Linked DNA regions of Homo sapiens: regions 1, 2 and 4 are each linked to region 3. Evidence: promoter capture Hi-C in human tissues and cell types (Jung and others, 2019). All regions are on one chromosome and are shown on one strand. The core of a region is centred on a gene start or on the middle of the fragment in contact, and the rest is flanking DNA. Distances in the headings are between cores, read along the strand shown.

What was found. Contacts are between HindIII fragments. The study calls those that stand out against the background at their distance.
Region 1: a contact is called between a fragment that was not itself captured here and the fragment with the promoter of RRP7A in region 3, in 1 of the 25 tissues and cell types used here (lymphoblastoid cells).
Region 2: a fragment that was not itself captured here is called in contact with the fragment with the promoter of RRP7A in region 3 in 1 of the 25 tissues and cell types used here (dorsolateral prefrontal cortex).
Region 4: a contact is called between a fragment that was not itself captured here and the fragment with the promoter of RRP7A in region 3, in 1 of the 25 tissues and cell types used here (thymus).

The regions. Positions count from the first base shown.
Region 1 is chr22:42,104,607-42,108,027 of GRCh38, forward strand. All of the region lies in intron 3 of NDUFA6-DT (NDUFA6 divergent transcript), which reads left to right. It also overlaps the pseudogene OLA1P1. Among named protein-coding and RNA genes, the nearest start is that of NDUFA6-DT, 15 kb to the left of the region's middle. The HindIII fragment of the contact is 5,344 bases long and covers 1-3,421 here.
Region 2 is chr22:42,178,975-42,182,279 of GRCh38, forward strand. TCF20 (transcription factor 20) reads right to left here. Exons shown (of 6, transcript NM_001378418.1): 3 at 635-728. Among named protein-coding and RNA genes, the nearest start is that of CYP2D6, 50 kb to the left of the region's middle. The HindIII fragment of the contact is 4,379 bases long and covers 1-3,305 here.
Region 3 is chr22:42,518,546-42,522,199 of GRCh38, forward strand. It overlaps RRP7A (ribosomal RNA processing 7 homolog A), which reads right to left and starts at 1,251. Exons shown (of 7, transcript NM_015703.5): 1 at 1,169-1,251. The coding sequence starts at 1,241. It overlaps LOC124900479 (a long non-coding RNA gene), which reads left to right. Exons shown (of 3, transcript XR_007068117.1): 1 at 1-808. RefSeq lists silencers at 1,003-1,132, 1,143-1,312, 1,333-1,392 and enhancers at 1,573-1,632, 2,158-2,452. The HindIII fragment of the contact is 27,172 bases long and covers 1-3,654 here.
Region 4 is chr22:42,863,281-42,866,995 of GRCh38, forward strand. No RefSeq gene overlaps it. Among named protein-coding and RNA genes, the nearest start is that of ARFGAP3, 7.9 kb to the left of the region's middle. The HindIII fragment of the contact is 6,267 bases long and covers 1-3,715 here.

The DNA.
Region 1 (3,421 bases), core at 833-3,332, 410 kb before region 3:
TTATTCCTAATGCAGTCCCTGCCTCTTTGTCATTCCTCCATGGGCTGTGGTTGGACCGCACAATCTAAACTGACCCAATTGGCTATTTGTGAATACTTTCCCAAATAAGGAAGGGAAGGGAAATGTGAGTTACAATGGTGGGATGTGCGGTTTCAAAGGGAGGAACGGGTGAAGAGTGGGTAACCAAGGGAACAGATGTGAGTTATTGATTAGGACTGACAGGAAAGTTGTTTACAGTTACAGTAACTAGGGGCAAGGAGGCATAGAGAACAAGAAAGTTGAGTTTGAGAACAAAGAACAAGGAAGTTAACAGGCTAAACCTTTGAAGAATTTTATTGTATCCTACAATTTCCCCCTTTTAATTTTTATAGTTCTTCCTCTTCAAACCTTTTTAAGATGTCTTGGCTTTGCTGTTTGACTTGATCGTCTGAAAGGAAACGCTTATCTGAATAAGGTGGAGGAGAGCTAAGGGAGATTTTAGTAAGTGCTGTTTCTATAAGCCTTTGTACTAGCCCATGGTTGCATGGTGTGACACAACACCCAACAAGAATGAGTACACCTATTATGACTGCAAGAGAAGTAAGAATTGAGGCTATGATTCCTTTCTATTTACCAAACCACCTGTCTAGCCATCCTGAAGAAGGGTTATTGACTCCAGAATTTTTAGCTAATTCATTAGATAAAATGGTAAGTCCTTGTAAGGCTTTTGTTATGCTCCCATCTGGGGCAGTATGGTTTGGGATGAAGGTACGACACTGAGTTTTAATCATAACACAAACTCTACCTTTTTCAGCTAGTATCATGCCTAGGGCCATTCTGTTTTCCTAAGCCATCTGGCTAGTCAGCCCTAACTCCTCAGCTATTCCTTTGACAGCATCCCTGGTATAATTAATAAACTGCTGTTGGTTATAATAGATGTAATTTATACAGTCTACATTTTTATTAATAGTTACCCATGGAAATATTGATTCAAATCCTGCAGACTATTTGGTCCCGGGCTTTTAATTTATCAGGTACTCCCCATGGGACTCCAGTTGCATCTAAATAAACTTGAGAGTCAAAAAACCTATAAGGGGCTTCTCTTATTTTATGGTGTTGTGGCTTTTCTTTTTCTGGCTGATGAAACGCCAGGGTGAAAGGGATAGCCAAATGGACAAGAGTGCAGGTACCACTCCAGTTACTTGGCAGAGTGTCCAGTAAGGGTCCGCCACAATACCACCATACATCTTCTTGAGGATGACTAAGGGCAGACTGATGGGTAAGCTCTTGGAAAGGCTTAAGCTCACTGCATCCTGTTAAGCTTCCAAGGAACACCAAGTTTTCCCCTTGTCGTGAGAGACAGGACGTGAAATTGACATTGGGAGCCAGAAGCTGGATGGCCCTCTGGGGCTGACCCGCAGGATATTGAACTTTGGGATAGAGCAAAGAGAGAGCTTGGCATGATTGATTGCCCCAAGCTATGGAATCCTGGAAGAGAGCTACCATGCTGCCCATGCCTGGTTGACTGGGGGACCAGCCGAGTGTAAAGGGGTCTATCTGGGTCTCTGGCTGGCCGTGAGCACAAGCATAACAATTGCTTTTGTTTCATGTGCGGACAGAATATTTGGTCCATTCCAACCAGGCATTTGCATCTTGATATTTTGTTTCAATTGCTAAAGTTTGCCTTAGATCATTTACTTCTACAATATCTACTTTAGTCTTATCATTGGGTATAGAAGGTATGGCAGTCTGATTAGAAGAAGGCTTAGAAGGAGAAGAGAGGGAAGAGGGTGAAGAGGATGAGGGATTAATAAAACGCATTTCAAAAGACCCTATGAGGTCTGTGCCGCGTTGGTCCCTATGCCATAGAAGCGACTCAAAGTAGGTCTAGAGGGTCGGTAGAGGCCGGAGTGAGAGTAGAAATCTGCACTGGATTACACTGGTTATACTGAAAATCGAGGGGAGGGGTGCTTCCTTTAGTAAAGTGAATGTATGATTTTAAGTATATACAGCCACATGTTGATGAGGTCCAGCCTTGATACTCAGTTGTCCACAGAACATCATTCCAGCTATGGCAGACCTGTTTCCCTATATTTTATGAGGAGCAAGAGTCTTGGTAGCGGGAGCCTTTTATTTTAAAGTGGCAGAGATACTTTTCTAAGGCTGAGAGTTGCCTTTGACTTTGGAGATCTCTACAGGGTATGACTAAACAGGCATCAAACATAATAACTTGGGGTGAGTTTGATTTAGTCACATTGATAACAAGGTGGTCAGCAACAGAATGAGGAAAGAAGAAAGAGTAATAGAGTAGACGAAAGAGAGTTAAACTTTTCTTAGCTTTAGTTTGAGGGGGTTTTCCCCTGGGATAATGGCCCATGACTCTGGAGGTGACAGTGCTTTCTTGACTCAGGTGTGATGGGTCTATCCTTTTTCTGCTGTCCGGACTGCAGTTTCAGTGGTTAGAAGCACCAGGTAAGGTCCTTCCCAGGCTGGCTCAAGTTTCTCCTCTTTTCAGCTCTTGATAAGGACGTGATCCCCAGGCTGATGTTGATGTACTGGGAACTCCAGAGGCAGAGCCTGTGCTAGGAGACCTTTGGTTTTAAGAAAAGAGAAAGTAGGGGAGAGACTAAGAATATAATTCCTGAGGAACTGGTGTTTTTGGAACATCAGCAGTGGAGTGTAAATAAGGCAATCCATAGAGCATCTTGTAAGGGGAAAGGCCAGTATCTTTTCGAGGAGCAGTTTGGATTCTTTTTTTTTTATTTGGTTTTGTCAAATGTTTTATTGAGTGTAGACATCTGGAGTACTATAAAACATGCATTATCTGTAGATTCAAAAAGGAGCAAGCCACATTGTTCTCACTGTCAAATGTGTTAGGCTTGGCATACATGATGGAGATTAATGAAGTATCATGAGAGTAACATGGTTCTTGAAAAGCTTCTATAATTTGGAGTAGGGTCTTAATCACATGAAAAGCAAAGGTGTTCACATTTAGTGAACTTGCATTTCATTGGGGGGAGAGGGTACACAGTATTTTAATTTTAAAACAAAAATAATTTGTTTGTCAAAGATTCCCATCTCCCCAACTTTATTTGTCCCATTGGTTTTCAGAAATTTTAATTTTTAAAAAATCAGATGCCTTTTGGAAGTTGTATGTTTATCTGAGCAGTAACTAAATTTTATTTCTTCTTCAGTTGTTAAGGTGTGTTAAATTTGAAGAAGATAATATCTCCATCTTCAACAATATAATTTCTGCCTTGTTGTCTGTACTTTCCAGCAGCCTTGACTGCATTTTCAGAACCTTCCTCTTTAAAATCTTCATATTTCATTACTTCAGCCATAATGAATCCCTTTTCAAAATCTGTGTGAATCTTTCCTGCAGCCTGAGGAGCCTTAGTCCCTTTCCTGATGGTCCGTGCACGCACTTCATCTGGGCCTGCAG
Region 2 (3,305 bases), core at 559-3,058, 340 kb before region 3:
AGGGAAATACAAATAAAAACCACAATGAAATAACATTTCATACCCACTGGGCTGGCTACAATTAAAAAAAAAAAAAAAAAGAAACACATATGACAGCAAGTGTCAGGGAGGACCTGGGGAAAGGAGAACACTCATGCACTGCCACTGAGAACGTAAAATGGGGCAGCCATTTTGGAAAACAGTCTGACAGTTCCTTAAAAGGTTAAACAGAGTTACCATATGATCCAGCAATTCTACTCCCAGGTACACATCCAAGAGAACTGAAAACATGTTCACACAAATGCTTGCATGTGAATGTTCTATAGCAGCATTATTCATAACAGTCAAAAAGTGGAAGTAACCCAAATGTACAGCAAAGCCCACAGAGATAGAAAGGATTGAGTCCAACAGAGCTTAAAGGGAAAAAAAAATCATAAAAATTTAAAAAAGAAAACAGAATAGTGGTTGCCAGGGACTGGAGGGAAGGGAAGGGAGATGAGTGCTGCTAATGGGTGGGAAGTTTTTTTATGAAGTGACAAAAAAAAAAAAAAAAAAAAAGAAAAGAAAAGAAAAAAAACAACGACAACAGAGAGAATCAAACTGTATGTCCTAATCCTTTGGATGCTCTGGACAAGGGTCTGTGGTCTCCTCTTACCTGCATCAATGGCACACGGGTAATGGTATCGGAAGGAGCAGCCTTTGTTGTAGCAGCCCAAGGTGGCGCCTGCCTCCTGGCAGTGGGAACATTTCTGAAAGGAAGGGAAAAGTCAGGCATGTCAGTATCCCAGATTTGGCCCTCTCCTCCAGGCCTTCCCTGGTCCCCATCTGTTAGACCTCAGCACGTGTCTCTGTGGTTAGAGGAGTCCGTGGTGGCAGGATGAGCTGGTCAATTTCTAAATGCCATTCACTGACCACACCATGGGAAGGGATCCAGCAATAATGTTTTAGACCAAGCCTCACAAATGTTCTCAAATCAACAATACAGCAGGGTGAGATGAGCAATCCATGTCATAAAGGACATGCCAGAGTGGGGTCCCCAGCCCTGCCTCTGGTACCCCCGCCATCCACCCACCCACACACTATGCCAGGCATTTCCTTGCTGCTATCGTGAGCGGCCTGCAGATCTTCCCTGTTTACTTCTGCTGTGAAAATCTGGGGTAAGAGAGGGTAAGGTAGTAGAGTTATATATAAACCTTTTAGAATTAGAAGTGGAATTTGGTTTCTAGTTCTTGTATTTGTAAGAAGATTTTATTTTTATTTTTGATCTACTTACCCCAAATGCCCAATACATTTCCCTTTTCAGAAAATATGGGCTCCTGTGTGCAAATGGTATTTTTATACATGAATCTTATTTTAAATGCACCAGAAAACCTGCCATGAATTTCTGGCTAAGTGAGACATTATTTTGTAATTGAGACACTCCTCCTTATATGGTCAGGTTTTCTTAAAGTGGGGCACATCTCTGTCAGCCCTGTGATGTGGCTGCTGTGAGTGCTCATCCTGTCAGGTAAGAAATGTGTCCTATCAGCAACAAACACATTCATAAAACTCAACCACATGTGACCCTACTAAGGATGCTGGCTCTTCAGATAGCAGAGGCACACAACCAGCAAGACTAGCTGGAAGAGACAGAAACTTGTTCCTGCTTCTATGAAAAATAAAAGTGTTCCCTAAGCAATTACACTGAGCTGGCTCAGGCCCCCGACACAGATACTGATGGAAAACTACACTAACGCCAGCAACAGCAAAGCCCAAGCGCTCGCCACGCTCAGACTGAATGATCTCATCCAGCCCTCTGCACTATTCCACCTGGCAGGCACTCCTAATGCTTCACGTGAAACTCTTGAGACACCAAAGGGAAAATAACTTGTTCCAGGTCAGAGCTGAGATTCTGGATGATCATCTCTGGCATCCTCCAGAGACAAAAGAGGTAGGAACAAGGGCTGGAAGAGATTAGTCCTTCAAAAGCTTTGCCCTGCTCTCAGAAGATCAAGGTCCTTCTGGGTGCCCATAATCAGTAAATGTTTATCATGTGCCCTCGCACCCTTGTTAAGAGAGAAAAGATCATTTGGTCTGGAGTAAACCAAGGACAAGTTCACAGCATTTCTAGTAGCCCTAGACTCTGTCGACCTTTGTCAGTGCCACAGAGCATCTCAGAATCAAAAGGACTATCAACTTCAGAGAAGGGAGTGTGGGTAGTCCATCGGTGGCCAACCTGCAGCCATGTCTGCTGCCACTTTCTTTTTTTGAGATGGAGTCTTGCTTTGTCGCCCAGGCTGGAGTGCAGTAGCGCAATCTTGGCTCACTGCAACCTCTGCCTCCCAGTTTCAAGCCATTCTCCTGCCTCAGCCTCCTGAGTAGCTGGGATTACAGGCGTATGCCACCACGCCAGGCTAATTTTTGTATTTTTAGTAGAGATGGGGTTTTGCATATTGGCCAAGCTGGTCTCAAACTCCTGACCTCATCGCATCTGGCCTCCTGCTGCCACTTTCTTACTCAAGAGGCCCGAAGATATGGCCCTCCCTACCCTGGGGGATGAATCACAGTGAGTGGTGGCCATTTAGGAATGGGTATGGTCAAGCATTTCTGGTAGGAAAGTCTGCAGGAAAAAGGGCTTCTGAAAACATTTTGCACTCCCCCCAACCTTTTTTTTTTTTTTTTTAATATATTTTGAGACGATGTCTTGCTCTGTCACCCAGGATGGAGTGCAGTGGCACAATCATGGCTCACTGCAGTCTCTACCTCCCAGGCTCAGGTGATTCTCCTGACCTCAGCCTCCCGAGTAGCTGAGACTACAGGGTGTGTGCTACCACATCCAGCTTTTTCAAAAAATGTTTTTGTAGAGACAGGGTCTCACTATGTTGCCCAGGCTGTCCTTGAACTCCTGGGCTCAAGCAATTCTCCCATCTCAGCCTCCAAAAGTGCTAAGATTACAAGCATGAAAGTTTCACCCTCTCAAAAAGAGACAAGAGGGAGGAACAGGTAATTTTTCTTGCGCAGCCTCTGTGAGGATTAGACAGTGGGATCTGTGGCAGCCACAGTATCACCATGAGGGGACAGCCCTGAAGACAAAGCCAGCCTGCTGAGGACAGAAGAGTGGCAAGATGGAGAGACCTGGGCCTACCATGACACTGTCAAGCACTAAATCACCCAAACCCAGGACCAGGCCACCTCTAGCCTTGTTACAGGAAACTTGGGTGCTGCTGTAGAAGGGTTAAGTATGCATGCTCTGGAACCTAAATAACTGCCTGGTAAGTGGCTCCACTTTCTAGCTCTGCCTTCTTGGCCAAACTCCTAACCTCTGTTCCTCAACCTACAGACGTGGG
Region 3 (3,654 bases), core at 1-2,500:
GGTACACCAGGGCCTCACACATGCTGGCCTCTCTACCTGGCGTGTCACCCTCTTCCCTCCCGCTCACCTCAGGTTTAGCTCAAACCTCGCTTCCTCAGGAGAGCCTTAGCATCACCTCCGCCCCTCCTGCCAGCTCAGATCCCACTGCCTGTGCCTTCACAGCTTCTCTTAACAGTCTGGAGGCTATATTGATGAGATTCTTTGGTTAATCGCTGGCACACCCATGACTGTAATCCTCATAAAGCTAGGAACTGCTTCTATTTTTCTCACACCTCCGTCACAGTACCGGTTGGCGTAGAGCTGCGGTCCCTGAACTCAGGAAGCTCAGTTGCAATAACGGAGAAGACAATTAACAAGCATACAGCAAACTTGTATCAATTGTGAAAGAAACATTACAGGGTGATGGGGTGGCAGAGGTCTTCTTTCCATAGGCCATCACGGATGGCCTCTTTGAGGAAGCAACATTAAAGCTCAGGCCAGAACGCCACTGTGCAACAAACCGGCACAGCACGTGCAAAAACCCAGAGGGGGGAAAAAGCATGTTCCCTCAGAGGAACAGAAAGAGCTTTAGGTCGGCACCAGCCAGACCACGTGGCCCACACAGGTTAAGAAGTCTGGTTTTTGTTTTAGAAGCTACCTGATAAAGCCACTGGAGGGAATGCAGTAGGTGTGGCGCCTATCGTGGGCGCGGCAGACATGATCGAATCTAAATGTCCTTAAAAGAACATTCTGGCACGTGGGTGGAGAACAGAAGCAGGGGCAAGAGGAGAAGGAGGGCAACCGAGTAGGAGGGCCTATAACAGCCCAGGTAAGAGCTGATGGGGGATGGACTAGGAGCAGAGGCGATGAGAAGGGGATGGGCTCACCTGGACGAGCGGGTGTGGACGGAAATGGGTTTGTCCTGGGTGAGAGTGTGGACAGAGGCGGGCTCACCCAAGGGAAGCGTGGACCAAGTTGGGCTCGCCCCGGGAGAGTGAGCAGGCAGAAGGGCGCCGCCTGGGTCCTCGGGACCCCGGAGCCTCAAGACCTGCGGAGCCTGGGGCCACGGGCCACCGGGGCTCACACCCAACCGTGCGGCCGCTCCTGGGGACCCCCGGCCGTCGCCAACCCCCAAACACCTCCCGGCGATGCCTGACCGCCCCCGGTCTCGCGTCCCGGAGCCCCTCACCTGCGTAGCCCAGTGGGCTGGGGATACGGTCCTCCGGGTCCCGCGCGGCGCACTTCCTCCTGCGCGCCACCATCTTGCCACCCGGGAGCGCGGGGGCCGCCGGGAGTTGCGGTTCGGCGCCGGCGCGAGCGCGTTTTCGTGGCGCCTGCCCCGCCCCCTCACTCCAAGCCCGCCTCCCCGGCCCCGCCCGCCATGGCCCAACCTTCATCCGCTCAGAGATAAATCAGCGCGCGAAAGTGGGAGCGAATGTCAGAGTTGACCCCGGCCAGTCACGAGTGCGAACTCAGCTTTCCACTCATGCATTCACACGTTGAATAGGCAGTGTGAGAGAAATCCAGGATGGCTGCTAGGTTTTCAGTCTGAGCAACTAAGAGGATGGTGTTGCCATTGACTGAGATGGGAAGACTGCAGGAGAGGGGCCTGCTTGGGGGTGAAAATGGAGTAGATCAGTTCTCTGTGAGCCGTGGTGAGATGCCCATTAGGCCACTCAGGGGACATGTCAGGTGGGCACTTAGATATGAGACTGAACAGACTGAACATCAGAGATGTCAGGCCTGGAGCAATACACACGGGACTGGCCATGGATAGGTTATTGACAGTTACGAGAGGAGCCGGGTGCGGTGATTCATGCCTGTAATCCCAGCAATTTGGGAGGCCGAGGGGGGCGGATCACTTGAGGTCAGGAGTTCCAGACCAGCCTGGCCAACATGGTGAAACCCCGTGTCTACTAGGTACAAAAAGTAGCCGGGCGTGGTAGTGCATGCCTGTAATTCCAGCTACTCGGGAGGCTGAGGCAGGAGAATCGCTTGAACCCAGGAGGCGGAGATTGCAGTTAGCCAAGATCGCCCCACTGCAATCCAGCCTGGGCAACAGAGCGAGACTCTGTCTCAAAAAAAAAAGAAAGAGAAAAAAAAAGAAAGTTATGAGAGGGTGTGATCGCCAAGGGAGCAAGTGTAGATAGGGGAGAAATGAAGTCCAAGGACTCCACTTTTCTGGACTCCAAAGGGCCTCTCAGACTGTGTACCCGCCAGCCCTTGATGTATCTACTATTTCTCTTTTCCCAGTGTACAGTTGCTTCTTGGAAATGCTGTCGGCCCCTTTGGGGAAAGATTAGGAGCCTACTACTGCAAATATTTGTGGTCTGGAGGGGACCCAGCCTCCCTTTCAGTCAGTGACCTCTGGTTCTGAGGCCTAGCTTAGGCCTGGAAACTGGATGAGGGGTTGGGATTTTCCATCAGCAGCTGCCATTACTGTCCTGTTCGCTCGTTTTTTGTTTTTGATCTTTCTTTGCTTAGCGCAGTCAAGCAGTGTTGGGGCTTCCGTGGCCCCTGGGAATACCGTGGTCTACTAGCATTCACCAGAGACTCCTGTGCGCCCAGGATCCCTGGCAGCCACTCTGGCCTTGCTCCTGTTCTGACAGTCACATCAACCGAACCTCTGCTCTCTGGAATCCTATCTCCTGCTGACCTTTCCGAGCCCGGCTCCAGTCCTATTTGCCCTCTTCTACCCTGGCCTCAGAGGACGGCCATGCCGATTGCCCATTGATGCCTAGACCCCCCACTAGTCAAAGCAGTCTCTGGTGAACCCTCCAGAAATACGGTCATCTGGCTTCTCAGATGTTGCATAATAAATCTGTGCCTGCACATCCCCCTCCCCGAGGCCTTTGGCTCCTTCTCAGTGCCCTGCCACCATCGTTCTGTTATCTCCCTCTCATGTATTGCTTCCACGCTTCAAGGAGCCATCTCGATGGATATCAGGACTGGCCACACAACATCACTTTTTTTTTTTTTTTTTTGAGATGGAGTCTCGCTGTGTCGCCAGGCTGGAGTGCAGTGGCGCGATCTCCGCTCACTGCAACCTCCGCCTCCTGGGTTCAAGCAATTCTCCTGCATCAGCCTCCTGAGTAGCTGGGATTACAGGTGTGCACCACCATGACCAGCTAAATTTCTTATTTTTGATAGACACAGAGCTTCGCCATATTGGCCAGGATAGTCTCGATCTCTTGGCCTTGTGATCCGCCCACCTCGGCTTCCCAAAGTGCTGGGATTACAGGCATAAGCCTTTTTTTTTTTTTTTTTTTTTTTTTTTTGAGACGGAGTCTCACTCTGCTGACACCCAGGCTGGAGTGCAGTGCTGCCATCTCAGCTTACTGCAACCTCCACCTCCCGGGTTCAAGCAATTCTCCTGCCTCAGCCTCCCAAGTAGCTGGGATTACAGGCATGTGCCACCACACCCAGCTACTTTTTTGTATTTTTAGTAGAGACAGGGTTTACCATGTTGGCCAGGCTGGTCTTGATCTCCTGACCTCAGATGATCTGCCCACCTCGGCCTCCCAAAGTGCTGAGATTACAGGTGTGAGCCACTGCACCCAGCCTAGAATTCAAGACTCTTGAGCCCATCTATCCAGACGTTCCCTGCCCTAGGTGACAGTGTCCGCTCCTTCACTTCTGTGCTCCTTGACTGGAGCACAGCACTTAGCACAGCCG
Region 4 (3,715 bases), core at 957-3,456, 350 kb after region 3:
GCCTGGGCAACAGAGCGAGACTCCGTTTCAAAAAAAAAAAAAAAAAAAAAAGAAGAAGAAGAAAGAAGAAGGAAGAAGAAGAAACAAAATACTGACATATGAAACCACACAGATGAATGTCAGATGAGTCATGGGAAGTGAAAAAAGACAAGGCTACATATTGCACGGTTCCATTCTTATGGCATTCTGGAAAAGGTAGAAACAGAAAACATCTAAGTGGTTTCTAGGGACTGGGGGTGTAAGGAGGGGTTGACAACAAAAATCCACGTGTTGGGGAGGTGACGGAAGAGTTCTATATCTTGATTGTGGTGATGGTTATGTGATACGGTTTGGCTGTGTCCCACTCAAATCTCATCTTGAATTGTAGTTCCCATAATCCTCATGTGTCAGGAAAGGAACCTGGTGGGAGGTAACTGAATCATGGGGGCAGTTACCCCCATGCTGTTCTCATGATAGTGAGTAAATTCTCATGAGTTCTTATGGTTTTATAAGGGGTTTTCCCCCCTTTGCTCAGCATGTCTCTTTCCTGCTGCCATGTGAAGAAGGATGTGTTTGCTGCCCCTTCTGCTATGATTATAAGTTTCCTGAGGCTTCCCCAGCCATGCAGATGTGTGAGTCAATTAAACCTTTTTCCTTTATAAATTACCCAGTCTTGAGCAAGTTCTTTGTGGCAGCATGAGAATGGACTAGTACATTACATAACTGTATACATTCATCAAAACTTCAAGAACTGTACACTAAAAGGAGTGTTTTTGGCCTGGCGCAGTGGCTCACGCTTGTAATCCCAGCATTTTGGGAGGCTGAGGTGGGTGGATCATGAGGTCAGGAGTTCGAGACCAGTCTGACCAACATGGTGAAACCCCCCTCTACTAAAAATACAAAAATTAGCTGGGCATGGTGGTGGGTGCCTGTAGTCCCAGCTACTCAAGAGGCTGAGGCAGGAGAATCGCTTGAACCCAGGAGGCAGAGGTTGCAGTGAGCCAAGATGGCATCACTGTACTCCAGCCTGGGCAACAGAGGGAGACTCCATCTCAACAACAACAAAAAAAGTATATACATAAATTATACCTTAAGAACTGAGAAAAATGGGAAACAAAGCAAATGCTCAGCAACATGGGACTTACAGCATGAGTATCATTCGGCCACTAAACAGTACACTTCACGCATGAACAACTTGAGCTTGAACTACATGGGTCCACTTACATGTGGATTTTTTTCTTTTTTTTTTCTGAGATGGAGTCTTGCTCTGTCACCCAGGCTGGAGTGTGGTAGCACGATCTCAGCTCACTGCAACCTCTACCTCCCAGGTTCAAGCAATTCTCCTGCCTCAGCCTCCCAAGTAGCTGGGATTACAGGTGTGTGCCACCATGCCTGGCTAATTTTTGTATTTTTAGTAGAGACGGGGTTTCACCATGTTGGCTAGGCTGGTCTCCAACTCCTGACCTCATCCTCCCACCTCGGCCTCCCAAAGTGCTGGGATTACAGGTATGACCCACCATGCCCAGCCAGATTTTTTTCAATAAAAGTTACACTTGAGTGTGCCAGCCTTTCCTGTTGCTCCTTCCACCTCCTCTACTTCTTTCACTTCTTTTTTTGAGACAGGGTCTTGCTCTGTTTCCCAGGCGGGAGTGCAGTGGTGCAATCATGGCTCACGGCAGCCTTGACCTCTCAGGCTATAGTGATCCTCCCACCTCAGCCTCCTGAGTAGCTGGAACTACAGGTGTGTGCTACCATGCCTGGCTAATTTTTTTTTTATTTTTGGTAGAGACAGGGTGTCCCTGTGTTACCCAAGCTGGATTAGAACTCCTGGGCTCAAGTGATCCTCCCACCTCGGCCTCCCAAAGTGCTGGCATTACACGTATGAGCCACTATGTCTGGTGTTTATTTTTAATTGAAGTATATTTAGGGACATGAGAAAATGCTCATGATCAAATGGCAGGAGAACGAAACTATATTTACAGTACGATCCCAATTTTGTAAGACACATACACACATTGATGATGATGATGACGACAAGAAAACAGCACATGTGGCTGGGCGTGGTGGCTCACACCTGTAATCCCAGCTACTCGGGAGGCTGAGGCAGGAGAATTGTTGAACCTGAGAGGTGGGGGGCACAGGGAGCCGAGATTGTGCCATTGCACTCCAGCCTTGGGCAACGAGAGTGAAATTCCACCTCAAGAAAAGAAAAGAAAAAAAGAAAATGGCACATGTGCATATATGTTAGGAAAAATACCAGAAAAAAATACACCCCAATGTTAGCAATGTAACCTCTGGAAGTCAGGATCACAGATAACTAATGTTTTTCTGAATACCTTTACTAAATTTCCAAATTTTCATCTGAGCCTTTGTTCCTTTTACAATCAGGAAAAAATAATTAAGATTCCTATTGGAAAATACCATAAAGTGGCAGGGCCACCTGGCTGTCTTTGCCCAGAAGCGGCCAGTGACTGTATGTAGTTCACATGCCCTGAGGCGGCTGCCTTGGTGATCCGAATGCTGTTGAGCTCAGGGTCTTTTAGGTCCTCGTACCCTAACCCTAACCCTAACCCTAACCCTAAGGCGCTCTGGGTTTCTGCAACCTTCGGGAGGTCTAGCACCTAGTATTCCTCTGGCGTCTGAGTTTTGGTCCACTGGCCGTTGGTGCTGGTATCCTTTCCCCTAAGAGTGACATCACTTATTTAGTTCATTTCTTTCTTCCTTCCTTCCTTTCCTAGCCCTTTCCACAAAGGATTTGTAGATGCCTAGAACAATATAATCTGGGTTTCATAGGATAGTCCCAGATTTGTTGCGTTTTCTTTTTTCTTTTTGGTTTAGTGCCACATACCCAGGCTAGAGGGAGGATGAGCACTGTGGTTCCTCCGACCCTGTGCCTGGTGGTGGTCATGCCTGGCCAGAAATGAGCCTCGTACCTCAACTGCAGGCGAGGCCAGATTTAGCTCAGTTTGGGCACATCCTCCCAGGTGTGGTGGAGCCACCTCCATCCTGACCCTGGTTCTTTTCACTGGCTGGCACCTGGAGCTGACTCCGTCCTGGCCTGAGGGCCCCTCTGCTTGCTGCCACCACAGGGGCCACAGAGATGCAGCCCATTTATTCGGAAAACCGAGGCCCAGAGAGTGGCCTTTGTCTTCCACAGGTGTCTGTGGAAGGGCTGGGGAGGGGCGCAGACCTTCCCTGCCTCAGAGGAGGCTTCAGGAAGGGTGGACAAGGGAGGGGAGCAGAGCGGACAGCCACCACTCTGGGGAGACCTTGGACTGTGAAAAGGGGTGGGGGAAGGAAAGCTTACAGGGCACCCACAGGCTGGGGTGCCCACCTGGCAGGGTCTTTGGCTTCTGAGCACCCCTTAAGTTATCCTCACTTCATCACCCCTGTTTTTTTGTTGTCATTGTTTTGAGACAGAGTTTTGCTCTTATTTCCCAGACTGGAGTGCAGTGGTGCAATCTTGACTTACTGTAACCCCCGCCTCCCGGGTTCACACGATTCTCCTGCCTCAGCCTCCCAAGTAGCTGTGATTACAGGTGCCCACCACCATGCCCGGCTAATTTTTTGTATTTTTAGTAGAAACAGGGTTTTACCATGTTGGCCAGGCTGGTCTCGAACTCCTGATCTCAGGTGATCCACCCGCCTCAGCCTCCCAAACTGCTGGGATTACAGGCATGAGCCACTGTGCCCGCCAGTCATCCCTACTTTTCAGCAAATGAAGCTCAGGCATTTT